Regions from separate parts of the Homo sapiens genome. Here region 2 is linked to region 1. The links are contacts of gene promoters, found by promoter capture Hi-C in human tissues and cell types (Jung and others, 2019). All regions are on one chromosome and are shown on one strand. The core of a region is centred on a gene start or on the middle of the fragment in contact, and the rest is flanking DNA. Distances in the headings are between cores, read along the strand shown. Region 1 holds the start of FAM83D (family with sequence similarity 83 member D). Region 2 has its middle 130 kb from the start of DHX35.

Region 1 (6,404 bases), core at 882-3,381:
ACCCTGGATACCAGCGCAGGGACACATGGAAGTCCCCACACTTATTCTTGAGAAACTTCACAAAGGGATGGGGATGGGGAGAGGAGAGGTAGAGAGGGAGAGGCGTCTCAACAGCGGCAGGCATTCATCCATTTAAAAAGGTTATTGGTTGCTAAATAATAATGGTAACATCTCACATTTATGACCCACTTTTCATTTACATAAAAAAGATGACGACTGAAAATTGACTGTTGGATTTAGCTCTGTGGAACTCATGATGAACCTGACAAGAGGTTTTGGTAAAGCAGTGGGGGTTTTAGCCTGATTGAAGAGGGCTGGAAGGGAACTGGAGACAGCAAGTATAGACAACTGGTTTGAGGGTTTCTTTTCTTTTCTTTTCTTTCTTTCTTTTTCTGAGACAGGGTCTTACTCTGTCACCCAGGCTGGGGTGCAGTGGTGTGATCATAGTTCACTACAGCTGCAAACTCCTGGGCTCAAGTGATCTCTTGCCTCAGCCTTCCCACTGGCTGGGACCATCATGAGCACTGCCATGCACTAAAAGTTAGGCGCACCACCATGCCCAGCTAACTTTTGTATTTTTTTGTAAAGACAGGGTCTCACTATGCTGCCCAGGCTGGTCTCAAACTCCTGGGCTCAAGTGATCCTCTTCCCTTGGCCTCCCACAGTGCTGGGATTACAGGTGTAAGTCACCATGGCCAGCCACATCTGAGATTCTATGCTGCAAAAATAAGAAGTGAGATGGGGAGCTTTAGAGGAATGTAGGGTCAAGAGAGGGTTGTTTTAAGATGAAAAATATTTCAGCATGCTTGTAGGCTGATAGAAATGAATCGGTAAAGAGGGAAGCTGATGTTCCAGGAGAAAGAAGAAGATTGCTGGAGCGATGCTGGTGAGTAGTAGAGGGGCTGGAAATGCCCAGGCAGAGGGGTTGGGGTTGGATGGGCACAGGCACAGTTCATCAATGCCCAGTATACGGGCAGAGATGCAGACAGGAAGGTAGACTAGATGGCCGCACGTGGACGTTCCCTTCTTACTGTTTCTGTGTTCTTGCTGACATGGAAGACAAGCTGTCAGAGAGGAAAAGGTAGAGAGAATGAGGGAAATGCGGCCTACCAGGCAGTTTTTTTGTTTGTTTGCTTTTGTTTTGTTTTGTTTTGTTTTTAGATGGAGTTTCGATCTTGTCGCCCAGGCTGGAGTGCAGTGGTGCTATCTCGACTCACTGCAACATCCGCCTCCCGCGTTCAAGTGATTCTCCTGCCTCAGCCTCCCGAGTATCTGGGATTACAGGCGTACACCAAGACACCTGGCTAATTTTTGTATTTTTAGTAGAGACGGGGTTTCACCGTGTTGGTCAGGCTAGTCTCAAACGCCTGACCTTAGGTGATCCGCCCTCCTCGGCCTCCTAAAGTGCTGGGATTACAGGCGTGAGCCACCGCGCCCGGCCTCCTAGCAGGCAGTCTTACGGATTATGAATTTAAAACATGACCAGTCAGTAAGCATGGTTACGCTCTTTTTGTTTTTTCTTCAGCCCTGTAGGGCTGCCGGGGTGCAGGTGGAAAGTAGGGTATAACCACGGTTGGTTGGGGTTTTACAAGGCAAAAATCGATGAAATGAGAGAAGACTACCCGAGGGTGTAATCAAAGGAGCAGTCCTAATACGATGAGCCGGTATTCTTTGAATGAATGAATACATGGTTAAAGGCAGGTGATAAAGGCGATATGGTTGGCCATGCCAAAGCACTGAGAGCCTAGGAGCAGCGTGGCCAGAGTCTCCGGGAGTCGGCACCTGCCTCTCCTCGTTGTCTAGGCCTGACTGTCCCTGGCCTTGCACGGCCGCGCAGCGGGGCGACCGGCAGGGGGCGCGCTGGGATGGCCAGGAGCTCGGCTCTCCCCGCTCTGTCCCTGCTCTGCGGCCCGCCTCGCCCCTGCAAGTTTAAATTCCTCTTAGCAAGCCCAGCATCGCAGCCAATAACGCATCAGGGGGCGGAGCCGTAGAGGCTTGCGCCCCGCCTCGCTCCGCTATTGGAAGGAAAGCAGCCAATGGGAGAGCCGAGGCGGGGAGGTGCGGCCAATGGCGCGGGCCTGTTTGATTCAAAGGTTGCCTATAAAGCGGGACTGCACGCCGGTTTTTGTCCGAGGGCTGTCGAGTCCGAGCGCCGCCATGGCTCTGCTGTCCGAGGGCCTGGACGAGGTGCCCGCCGCCTGCCTGTCGCCGTGCGGGCCGCCCAACCCGACCGAGCTGTTCAGCGAGTCACGGCGCCTGGCTCTGGAGGAGCTGGTGGCGGGCGGCCCCGAAGCCTTCGCGGCCTTCCTGCGACGCGAGCGCCTGGCTCGTTTCCTGAACCCCGATGAGGTGCACGCCATTCTGCGCGCGGCGGAGAGGCCGGGAGAGGAGGGCGCGGCGGCGGCGGCGGCGGCCGAGGACTCGTTCGGCTCCTCGCACGACTGCTCTTCGGGCACCTACTTCCCCGAGCAGTCGGACCTGGAGCCACCGCTGTTGGAGCTTGGCTGGCCCGCCTTCTACCAGGGCGCCTACCGCGGCGCCACGCGTGTCGAGACGCACTTCCAGCCCCGCGGCGCTGGCGAAGGTGGCCCCTACGGCTGCAAGGACGCTCTGCGCCAGCAGCTCCGCTCGGCGCGAGAGGTGAGCGGCCCTCCAGGGCCCTGGGTCGCACGGGAGACCCCCTTCAAGAATGGGAAATTGAGGCCTGCTGGGAGTACGGGCCGGGGCCACTACCTCCTCTGCGCCCTACCGGAAGCGCGCGCGGGCTAGGTGGTCCCAGGGTCTCCGACTCACACCCCACTCTGCGTGTCTCCCCCGGATCCCCCGGGCCGCTCCTCGTGGCAGGGGATAGTGGGAAAGCCTCGGTTCCCAAGGATGCGAATTGTGCCCGGGTTCCATCTCCTAACGTTCATATCCCTGAAGGAGGGACCAGAAGTACTCTGAGTTCCAAATTTCAGTTAAAATCAAACTTGGAAAATTGCCTATTTCCCTGTCTGTCAGCCAACGCTAGATCCCACTTTCAGGAGCTTCTTAGGAGACTCATTACCAAAGAACTTACGCAGGGAAAGTTCCAGAAAGATGGTCTCCAGAGACAACTACGGGGCATTAGGAAGCAATTATTATTGCTAATTACTTTCATGCATCTTTTGCTGTAAAAAGCAGATAAACACGAGAGTGGCAAAGTGAGAGCCCTGCCGCTTTTTCTTTCTTGTCTTTTTTTTTTTTTTTTTTTTTTGAGACAGATTCTCTTTTGCCCAGGCTGGAGTGAAGTGGTGGGATCTCAGTTCACTGCAACCTCCGTCCCCCGGGTTCAAGTGACTCTCCTGCCTCAGCCTCCCAAGTAGCTGGGATTACCGGTGCCCGCCACCACGCCCGGCTAATTTTTGTATTTTTAGTAGAGACGGGGTTTCTCCATGTTGGCCAAGCTGGTCTCGAACTCCTGACCTCAGGTGATCCACCCGCCTCGGCCTCCCAAAGTGCTAGGATTACAGGCGTGAGCCACCGCACCCGGCCCCCTGCCGCTTTTTCTACTGCCAGAGACTGGAGGGGAAACTGGGGCAAGGGGTTTGTTTTCCATAGGCTGGGTCTGTGCCAGATTGCAGTGGTCTCCTAAAATGCAGATACATTTGCATTAGATCGGCTTCTGTATTCATAGTGGGTTTTGGTCCTACTGTCTGACTCTTAGTATGGCATGGTCATGGGTGCAATGGAGGTCTTGTCTGCTTGCCAGCCTCGATAAAGCTGCAGCAGGGTGCTGGGGATCAAGGAGGAAGAAGGCAGCCTGCAGGTGGGTGTGGCACATAGAGTGTCGTGGCAGACACCTTGGTCTGGAGCCATGGTCAGGTTGCTTGCTGACTGGCAGTGCCCAGCTCCCTGGCTATCTGCCTGTGCCAGGGACATGGCAGATAAAGCCCCAGCCATGTTAAGACTTGTTAGGGCTGGTACCTGAGTGTGTCTGAGTGTGGGTGAAGATACCAGTGCATTGTCAGGTTGACATGTCCAAGCCCCGACTCTCACCAATGTTCTTAATGTTCTTTCCCTGACTGGTGGGGTTTCAGTGGTAGTGGATACAGTGACCTAGTGCCTTGCCTTTGAGGGAGTGGTTGTGGGCTGCAGCTAGGCTCTTACCAGCCCTGAGGTGCTTTGGGTGGACTGAGGGTTTTTTGATGCAGCAGACATTTTCCTTGCGGGTTCAGTGAAAAGATTAAAAAGATGGAAAAGGCAGACTTGTGTAGGTATGCATCCCCAAAGCTCATGTCCAGTAGAACTTGAGCACTTGGAACCTGAAAAATGTAAAGAACTGGTCTGTATAGTGAGAGCTGTGGATTGTTCTAGTCTTTTGCCCAGCCCCAAATTTTAGTGATAGCAAAAGGGCACTGGAACTAGAGGCCAGAGGGAAACTATTAAACTCACGTGCTGGCGTGAGGAGGGGATGGAGCCAGGAGCTCAGACTCTCCCTCATCTCACGGGCATTTTGTAATACTGACATTTCCAGATAGAACCTGCTGCCCTAGTCTAGCTACCCACAGTTCCCTCCGAGATGCTGTATTTGGAACCTGGGCAGTTTTAACTGAGAAAGGTGGTACATTACCTTTAAATCCAATGAGTATTGGCTGGGCACAGTGGCTCAAGCCTGTAATCCCAGCACTTTGGGAGGCTGAGGCAGGCAGATCACGAGGTCAGGAGTTCGAGACCAGCCTGGCCAACATCGTGAAACCCCGTCTCTACTAAAAATACAAAAATTAGCTGGACGTGGTGGTGCGTGCCTGTAATCCCAGCTACTTGGGAGGCTGAGGCAGGAGAATTGCTTGAACCTGGGAGGTGGAGGTTGTAGTGAGCTGAGATCACACCACTGGACTCCAGCTCTGGGCGACAGAGCAAGACTCCCTCTCGGAAAAAAAAAAAAAAAAAAATCCAATGAGTATTTTCAGTGTGTCCGATAGATGCCAAATTATTTGCTTACTCATTGCCTGCTGTGTATCAGACACTACCATGGCTGGGGCCACAGGGGAAGGCATCATCCTTGCCAACACTTGAGAGTGGACAGTGTGCTGATGGGAAACAGTGAGGAGTTTGCTGCAGGTACTGCGGAAAGGGCTAAAGAAAGAAAGTCTCCGGAGTGGCAGTGACCTCAGAGCTGGGTGGGGCTTGCCAGACCTAGGGTATGGGGGCTGGCCCACAAGTGTTTAAGGACCTGGAATGTTTGGGGGCAGCCAAATTCCCCACAGCGGGTTAGTGGTAGGAGAGGAAGCTGGGGTAAGGGATGCTGAAATGAGTTGGGTTTGAGACAGTGCTGAATTTGAGGTCCCAAAGACAATCTCTTTTGTTTAAAAAAAAAAAAAAAAGCCAGGCCATGGTATCATGTGCCTGTAGTCCCAGCTACTCAGGAGGCTGAGGCAGGAGGATCATTTGAGCCCAGGAGTTTGAGGCTGTAGTACACTATGACTACGCTGTGAATGGCTACTGCACTCCAGCCTGGGCAACACGGGGAGACCCTGTCTCTTTAAAAAAAAAAAAAAAAAAAGTAATGCTTTCTGTTTGCCAGGCACTGTTCTAGGTGATCCCAAGGAAGGTGCGATTATCATCTTCATTTTACAGCTGATAGAACTGAGGCATAGAGAAGTTAAGTGGCCCCGAAGTCATGCAGCTAGAGAATGAAGGAGCCTGTACTCAAATTGAGGCACAGAATGTCTGAACCACTGTTAACCACCACACTCCCTGTGGAGGGTTCAGGAGCCTGTGCTCAGGTGGGGAGAGGTGACAGCAGATCTGGTGGCTAGCTAAGAGCTACTACTATTTATGGGCATGCATTGTGGACAAGGGAGTGGCTGTGTCACCTTGACCACATCCTTTGAAATCTAGTACCTGTGACAGCGAGGACCATGAAGGTGTAGGTCTCAGGCTGCTTTCAGGATGAAATGAGAAGCTGTTCTGCATCCGTGTTCTGATAGCAAAGGTACCTAATGGTGATATGATTGAGCACTTTGAATGGGTCAGTTTCTGTGCTAAACCCTTGACCTGAATTACCTCATTTAACCCTCCCAACACTGGGAGGAGGCTACAATTAAGAAAAGACCAGGCACAGAGAAGTTAAGTAACTTGCCTGAGATCACACAGTTAGCATGGGACAGAGCTGGGCTCAAGCCCAAGTCTGTCTAGTTCCAGCTCTGAAGCTCAAGTGTTTTTTTTTTGTTGTTTGTTATTATTTTTTTTAAGACAGAGTCTTGCTCTGTCACCCACGCTGGAGTGCAGTGGCATGATCTTAGCTCACTGCAACCTCCACCTCCTGGATTCAAGTGACTCTCCTGACTCAGCCTCCCGAGTAGCTGGGATTACAGGAGCACACCACCATGCCCAGCTAATTTTTTCTTTTTTTTTTTGGAGACAGAGTTGCTCTTTTGGCC
Region 2 (6,936 bases), core at 167-2,666, 160 kb after region 1:
ACATCTACCTCCTGGGTTCAAGCGATTCTCATGCCTCAGCCTCTTGAGTAGCTGGGATTACAGGCGTGGGCCATCACACCTGGTTAATTTTTGTATTTTTTGTAGAGATGGGGTTTCACCATGCTGGCCAGGCTGGTCTTGAACTCCTGGCCTCAAGTGATCCACCCACCTCGGGCTCCCAAAGTGCTGGGATTACAGTTGTGAGGCACCACGCTTGGGAGGATATCTGCACAGTATTCTTATGTCCTGAAGGTCAGGTGTCAGGGCAGCCTTCCCTGGGCACTCCTTATAAACAGCAATGTCTCCCTGCCCCATGACCCCGTCTCCATCTGGTATACATTATCACTCCACCTCTGCCTTGTTATTTTAAAATTATTTTGTAACAGCCACCATCTGAAATGTCATTTATTTGTTTACTGTCTAAGGTCTGTCTCTTCCACTAGATTGTAGATTCCATGAGGACAGGGCGTTGTCTCTTCTCTTTGCTGCTCTATTTCCAGAGCTTAGAATAGCACTCAGATGGGCTCAACAAATACTTGTTGCATGCATGAATGAAAGGGTTCTAACTCCAGTTTTGATGCTTCCTGGCTTTGTGAGTTTGAACCATCTCCTGAGCCTCAGCGTCCTCATTTGCAAAGGGAGGGGGACTGTCCTTCTTCCCAGAGCCCCTGTGAGGATTATGCAAGACAATGTGCATCAGCCAATGCCCATATTTTAGAGAAGTCTAGAAGGCCTGGGACTTGTTGAGGTTGGAAAAGAAAACTGCCTCATATCTCCATTCATCCAGCCAGTAACAAATTCTCAAAGTAAGATAAGACCTGGGTCTAAGGATAAAATTAAGGATGTTGCTGTAAGACCCCTTGTTAAACCCTCTGAAAGACTTAAGGTGGTACTAGCAGACCCTTTAGCTAGACACTGTGGTTTCTAAGACTCTTAAGGGTCCAACAGGAGGGAAGAAGAGAAAGAGAAGCCTGTTTCAACTGAAATGAACCTCAGTCAGATGCATAGAAAACCCATAACATTTTCAAGATATCTGTATCAGTGAAAACACTGTAAGTGTGTACAAAAAGTGACTGCAACTTTTCAAAATAAAAACAGGCCTCTGAGTCTCCAATTTTCTAAGAGCAGAAAGGCTGAAAAAAACTATGTAGCTATAAATATCAGCCATTTCTTATGCAAACAGAAGGATGATTAGGAGAGGAGAACCAAGAGTCCAGAGAGGAAAGTTAAGAGCCATAGAGAACAATGGACTAGGGAATCACTCCAAGGAAGCAGAATTGGACCCGAATCAAGGGCTGTTCCCTGCCCCTGGAAGCAGAGGGAATTGACAACCTGTGCTTTGCTGGATTTTGATGTTTCTATGAACCAGGGACCACTAAGTACCTCCGGTTCCTCCCCTTTTTGTCTGGGAATGCCTATTGCGAATATCCTGTCCCTTTTTCATCTTTATTTATTTATGTTTGAGACAGAGTTTCGCTCTGTTGCCAAGGCTGGAGTGCAGTAGTGCAATCTCAGTTCACTATAACCTCTGCCTCCTGGGTTACAGTGGTTCTTGTGCCTCAGCCTCCTCAGTAGCTGGGATTACAGGCAGGCACCAGCACGCCCAGCTAATTTTTGTGTTTTCAGTAGAGTTTTCTCCATGTTGGCCAGACTGGTCTTGTACTCCTGGCCTCAAGCGATCCACCCACCTTGGCCTTCCAAAGTGCTAGGATTACAGGCAGGAGCCACACTGCATCCGGCCCTCTTTTTCATCTTTATATGTTGAGTATGGGGGTGAGTAGTAGGAGCTGCACCTTATGAAGCCCATCTGCCTCTGTCCCTGATTCAGAAGTGCTATCAACTGAATTGTCTCTTCCCAAAGTCATAGGTTGAAGCTGTAACCCTCAATGTGACTGTATTTGGAGTTAGGCCTTTTAGGAGGTAGTTGAGGTTAATAAGGTCATAATAGTGGGGTCTTAATCTAATAGTATTGGTGGCCTTAGAAGAGGAAGAGAGAAATCTCTCCCTTGCTTCATGGACACGAACCAAGGAGGGCCATGTGAGGACACAGCAAGAAGGTGGCTGTCTGCAAGCCAGGAAATGAGCCCTCACTAGAACCTGACCATGCTGGCACCTGGATCTTGGACTGCAAGCTCCAGAACTGAGAAAATAAATTTCTCTTGTTTAAGCCCCCCAGTCTATGGTATTTTGTTACGGCAGCCTGAGCTAAGACAAGAACTCAAGGTTCTGAACATGAAGCTATAATGGCATGAGACATTTTGTGGGAGGGGAGAATGAGCATATTTTGAATGTGGAAGAAATGAAAGTAATTGTAGCAGAGAGTGGACCAAAATAAGCTTAAAAACATGGCCACAATATTTTTTAGTCCCTTCCATTAAAAAATAGTCTACTTTCCTAAGCTGCCTTGTCATCTGCATTGACATGCAGAATGTGGTGGAAGTGATATCAGTAAGCTCTAGAGTGTGGCAAAATGTTAAAAACAACCCAAATGGCCATCATCAGGGGGCTGGCTAAATAAACAATGATGCATCTATATCTGGAATGCCTCAGCACTAAAACAATGCCTCAGAGCATTAAAAACAATGAAGTGGATCTGTTTCTATCAAGATGGTAGTATCTCCAAGACATATGGTCAAGTTATGAAAACAAGTTGCTGAATGATAACTTCAAGTAAGATACCATTTATGTTAAAATATAAGTTCATGAAAAGATACCATATATAGTTGTCCCTTGGTATCCACAGGGTATTGGCTCCAGGATACCCCTTGGATTCTAAAATCAATGGATGCTGAAGTCTCTGATATAAAATGGCATAGTATTTGCATACAACATATGAACATCCTTTTGTGTACTTTTTTTTTTTTTTTTTTTTTGAGACAGAGTCTTGCTCTGTTGCCCAGGCCGGAGTGCAGTGGTACAATCTCGGCTCACTGCATCTTCTGCCTCCCGGATTCAAGCGATTCTCCTGCCTCAGCCTCCTGAGTAGCTGGGATTACAGATGTGTGCCGTCATGCCTGGCTAATTTTTGTATTTTTAGTAGAGACTGGGGTTTCACCATGTTGCCAGGCTGGTCTTGAACTCCTGACCTCAGGTGATCTGCCTGCCTTGGCCTCCCAAGGTGCTGGGATTACAGGCATGAGCTACCGTGCCCAGCCCTTTTGTATACTTTTAATAATTTCTAGGTTACTTATAATACCTAATACAATGTAAATTCTATATAAATAATTGTTATACTATTTATATTATTTATAATTTTTATTATTTATATTTATATGATTTATATTTTAATTTTGCATTGTTATTTTGTATTTTTTCTGAATTTATTCAGTCAGTGGCTGGTCGAATCCATGGGTGTGGAGTCCAAAGATATGGAAGGCTGACTGTATTTTCCTGTACATAGTGAGTGTGTGTGTTTTTATGTTTGTGCCTGCACACATACACTCGTGTGTGCGTAAGATCATTAGAATAAAATAATAAGTTCTACTCAATAACCCCTTCCAGAATCTGGCCTGGGGTTGACATTATTCTCCCTGGCCCTTGGTTAGTGGAAACCACAGCTTCTTCTCCTCTGAGGGTGCTTCCCTTGAGTCTAGGGTGATTCCTTTATGGCCCTGGGTGCTGTCATTGGTTCTTCCTGCCACCATGGCTGCCAGTTCCTTCTCCTTACTGTCCCTTCTCCCTCTGCAGCTGGAAGATCATTCTCGTTGATCCAGAAGGCACAGGTGCTCCCAAGCTGTGGCGTGTGTGGGTCCCTGCTATCCGTCATTGGCAGGACTTCAGCGTCAGCCTAGGCCTCCATTCCTTAGGAGCTTCTTGCCATTGTGTCACTAAAATGTCACATTGTCTTGTCCTGAGCCGTTCTTGTGAGGAGCCAGTGCAATGCAGAGGGGAACAGAATAATAGGATTGGCCCTTTTTATGGCCCTACAGCTAGCTGTGCAACCTCAGGCCAGCCACTTAATATTCCCCAGCAAATCTTGCTTTTTATGAAATGGGGACAGGAGTGTCTTGCTCCTAGGGAGCAAATGTGATAATGCAGGTAAAGTGCCCCATGCAATGGCAGGCGTGCTGCAGGTGCTTGCAAAAGGATTTTCCCTTTCTGCCCCTAATTCCAGTGTGGCTGTAAATCCCTTCATAGCTGTGTGGCTTTGGGCAAGTCACTTAACCTTTCTGAACCATACCTGTCAAATGGTGATAATGACATCTCCCCTACAATGTTCATTCATTCATTGAGCAAATATTTATCAAGGACCTAGTACGGGCTGGGCATCATGCTAAGCATTAGGGATATAGTGACGGATGAGACTGATGAAGTCTGTGATTTGATGTTGACGATTGCCTAGTGAGAAAGAGAAATAAAACAAATGACTGTATCGATAATTGTCATGAGCTTGGAGTTGAAGCAATAAAATATGTTGTACCCAGTAGGTGCTTCAGGAAGGCAGCCACCCATCACCTACTGCAGTCCCAGCCACAACTGGGCTGCATGAAACCACTACTGGAGCCCCAGCAGAGAGCTCACTTCCACCACCCTGCCTGTGGGGCTCAGCTCAGCAATGCTCTGGCATCTTCTATATTGTCCTGTGTGATTTCTCAGAAGAGGTAGACTGTCCCAAAGGCCAGAGCACTGCTGCTGTCTGAGCAGCCAAGATGCCGAAGCTTCATCTCAAACTTTCATTATCCTTTGCCTTGGGCTGTCCTGTTTTCCTCTCCCCTCCCCCCTCCTTTTTCCTTCCTTCTTTTTCTTAAGACTAGGTCCCATTCTGTTGCTCAGGCTGGAGTGCAGTGGTGCCATTTCAGCTCACTGCAATCTCTGTCTCCTGGGTTCAAGCGATCCTCCCACCTCAGCTCCCCAGTAGCTGGTACTACAGGTTTGTGCCATCATGCTCAGCTAATCGTGGTATTTTTTTTATAGAGACATGGTTTTGCCATGTTTCCCGGGCTGGTCTCAAACTCCTGAGCTCAAACAATCCACCCCCCTCAACCTCTGAAAGTGCTGGGATTACAGGCATGAGCCATTGCACCTGGCCTGTTCTGTTTCTTGGTGGGGAATTAATTCCATTCTTTCTAGGATTTTTTTTTTTTTTTTTAAATCTTCCTTGCTAAACCAGAGCATGGGGGAGGCTCCCAGGGACCCCTCATTCACTATCATTCAGAGTAGCAATAACCATCCATTAAGCATGATGCTATGCCAGGGCACTTTACCCTCATGAACTCTTTGAATCTCACAGCAGCCCTGACAATATTATAATTCTCATTTTACAGAGAAGAAAATGGAGAAACAAAGAGGTTGGTTAAAGTGCCACAGCCACACGGTTGGTGGCTGTGTTTGAATTCAAACCTGGACACCTGTTGCCATTCTGAGGGTGTTCTGTAATAACATGCCTGAATCAGAGTTGGGAAGATGGAGCATGGGATGAGGACAAAGGAGAGAAGTCCAGAGGCTGGCTAGAGATGGTAAGAGTCCAGAGACAAGACCCTGGTGTTGCTGTCCTCAGCCTCTTTTGAGAAGTTCCTGTTATCTTTAGGGGAAGACAGGAGGGGATGGAGAAGAGAATTTCTGGGAGACCTCTTGAATGTTTCAGTTCCAAGACAGTACCTGAGAAGTCCACTGTGAACAGTTGCCCACGTTGTGGACTCCACAGCTCTAGATGACACCATTCACACTGTTGTCAATGAGAATAGACTGTTTAGGTACCCTGTAGGGACATGCATTTTGCATCCTGTGTCATAAGAGGACTTCTAAGCGGTACTGGCTAGAATGCTGCGGGGACAGGGAGAACCTTTCTCACCTTAGAACAGGGTCCCTGGGCTCCTGCTGGGGAGAAAGATCAGAAAGGGACAGTCCACAGCAGGCCATTGAGTCTACTGGGAAGAATGAGATGGGAGATATGGGCACTGTCTCTCCTAGCCAGCTTTTCTGGGTCTCTTTACCCTATTCAGACACACCTGGTGGTCTCACCCTCTGCTCCCCATACATGAGGCTGAGGTCCCTGCACACCCAACCCTGGAATTGGAGCTGGAGCTCACCCTCCCTGCAGGGATGCCGGCTTTCAGGGCCCTGCCTCCAGTCCAGTACTGTGAGTAGCTTCTCTGTCCGCTCTCCTGGATGGCTTCTTCTGGGGACAGCTTGGGGCCCTAACTTGCCCATTTCCCAGAATCCTTCCTGCAACCAACTTGAGAGTTAAGGTAGCTCAGGGTGGTTAAAGGTTAATGTCTGCCCAGCCATTTATCTGCTTTGAATTGACTTATCCCTAAGAGTGTGGCTCTTTAAAATGCAGGAGAGTGTTGGAGCCACCAAACTCTCTCATTGCCCAGTGTCCTCCCCCACCCACCCCCCTGTATAAATCCCCAGTCCCCCTCCCCTTCCTTGTCAGGAACCGATTTCAGCCCACAATGGAGATGGTTTATTACAGCTCACTTCCTGCTGTGAGTAAATAAGTTTGTCTCCTTTAAATTCCCTGGGCAATTAGGAGAATGAAAGACTGAGCTTTGGATTAGCATTTATTTCCTCCAAACGTTTATATGAGGCCATTTTCCCACTGACAAATTGTGGGGCAAATTGTTCTCGAGAAACTGTCTGCAGCAAAGGTGCTATGATTAAACGGCCGGTGTAAATTTGGGGTCATAAATCCTTTCCCTGAGTTAATGGGATTTATTCACAGCAACTGCCATTACAGGCTCAAAGAAATAATAATAAATGAGGTTGATTTTGCACCTGTTTCAGGGTAATTAATATGCACACTAAAGGGAAAAGAGGTTGTTTTTACAAACTGCCTCGCCTGTGGCTCAAGATTTGGAGTCCTTCTGGAGTCTTCAGGTCAATGGCCAGCCTCTTTCAGGACAGAGAGCTGGGAGCAGTTGGGAAGGGGCTTGAGGCAGGGAGAGGGTGGTCTGGGGTGTGACCTGAGACTCTTGCGTTGCAGGTAACGGAACC

The links. Contacts are between HindIII fragments. The study calls those that stand out against the background at their distance.
Region 2: a fragment that was not itself captured here is called in contact with the fragment with the promoter of FAM83D in region 1 in 2 of the 25 tissues and cell types used here (liver and stomach).

The regions. Positions count from the first base shown.
Region 1 is chr20:38,924,286-38,930,689 of GRCh38, forward strand. FAM83D (family with sequence similarity 83 member D) reads left to right here and starts at 2,132. Exons shown (of 4, transcript NM_030919.3): 1 at 2,132-2,640. The coding sequence starts at 2,158. RefSeq lists a silencer at 1,750-2,109 and enhancers at 2,220-2,319, 3,705-3,794. The HindIII fragment of the contact is 31,187 bases long and covers 1-6,404 here.
Region 2 is chr20:39,084,650-39,091,585 of GRCh38, forward strand. No RefSeq gene overlaps it. Among named protein-coding and RNA genes, the nearest start is that of DHX35, 130 kb to the left of the region's middle. The HindIII fragment of the contact is 4,162 bases long and covers 1-3,497 here.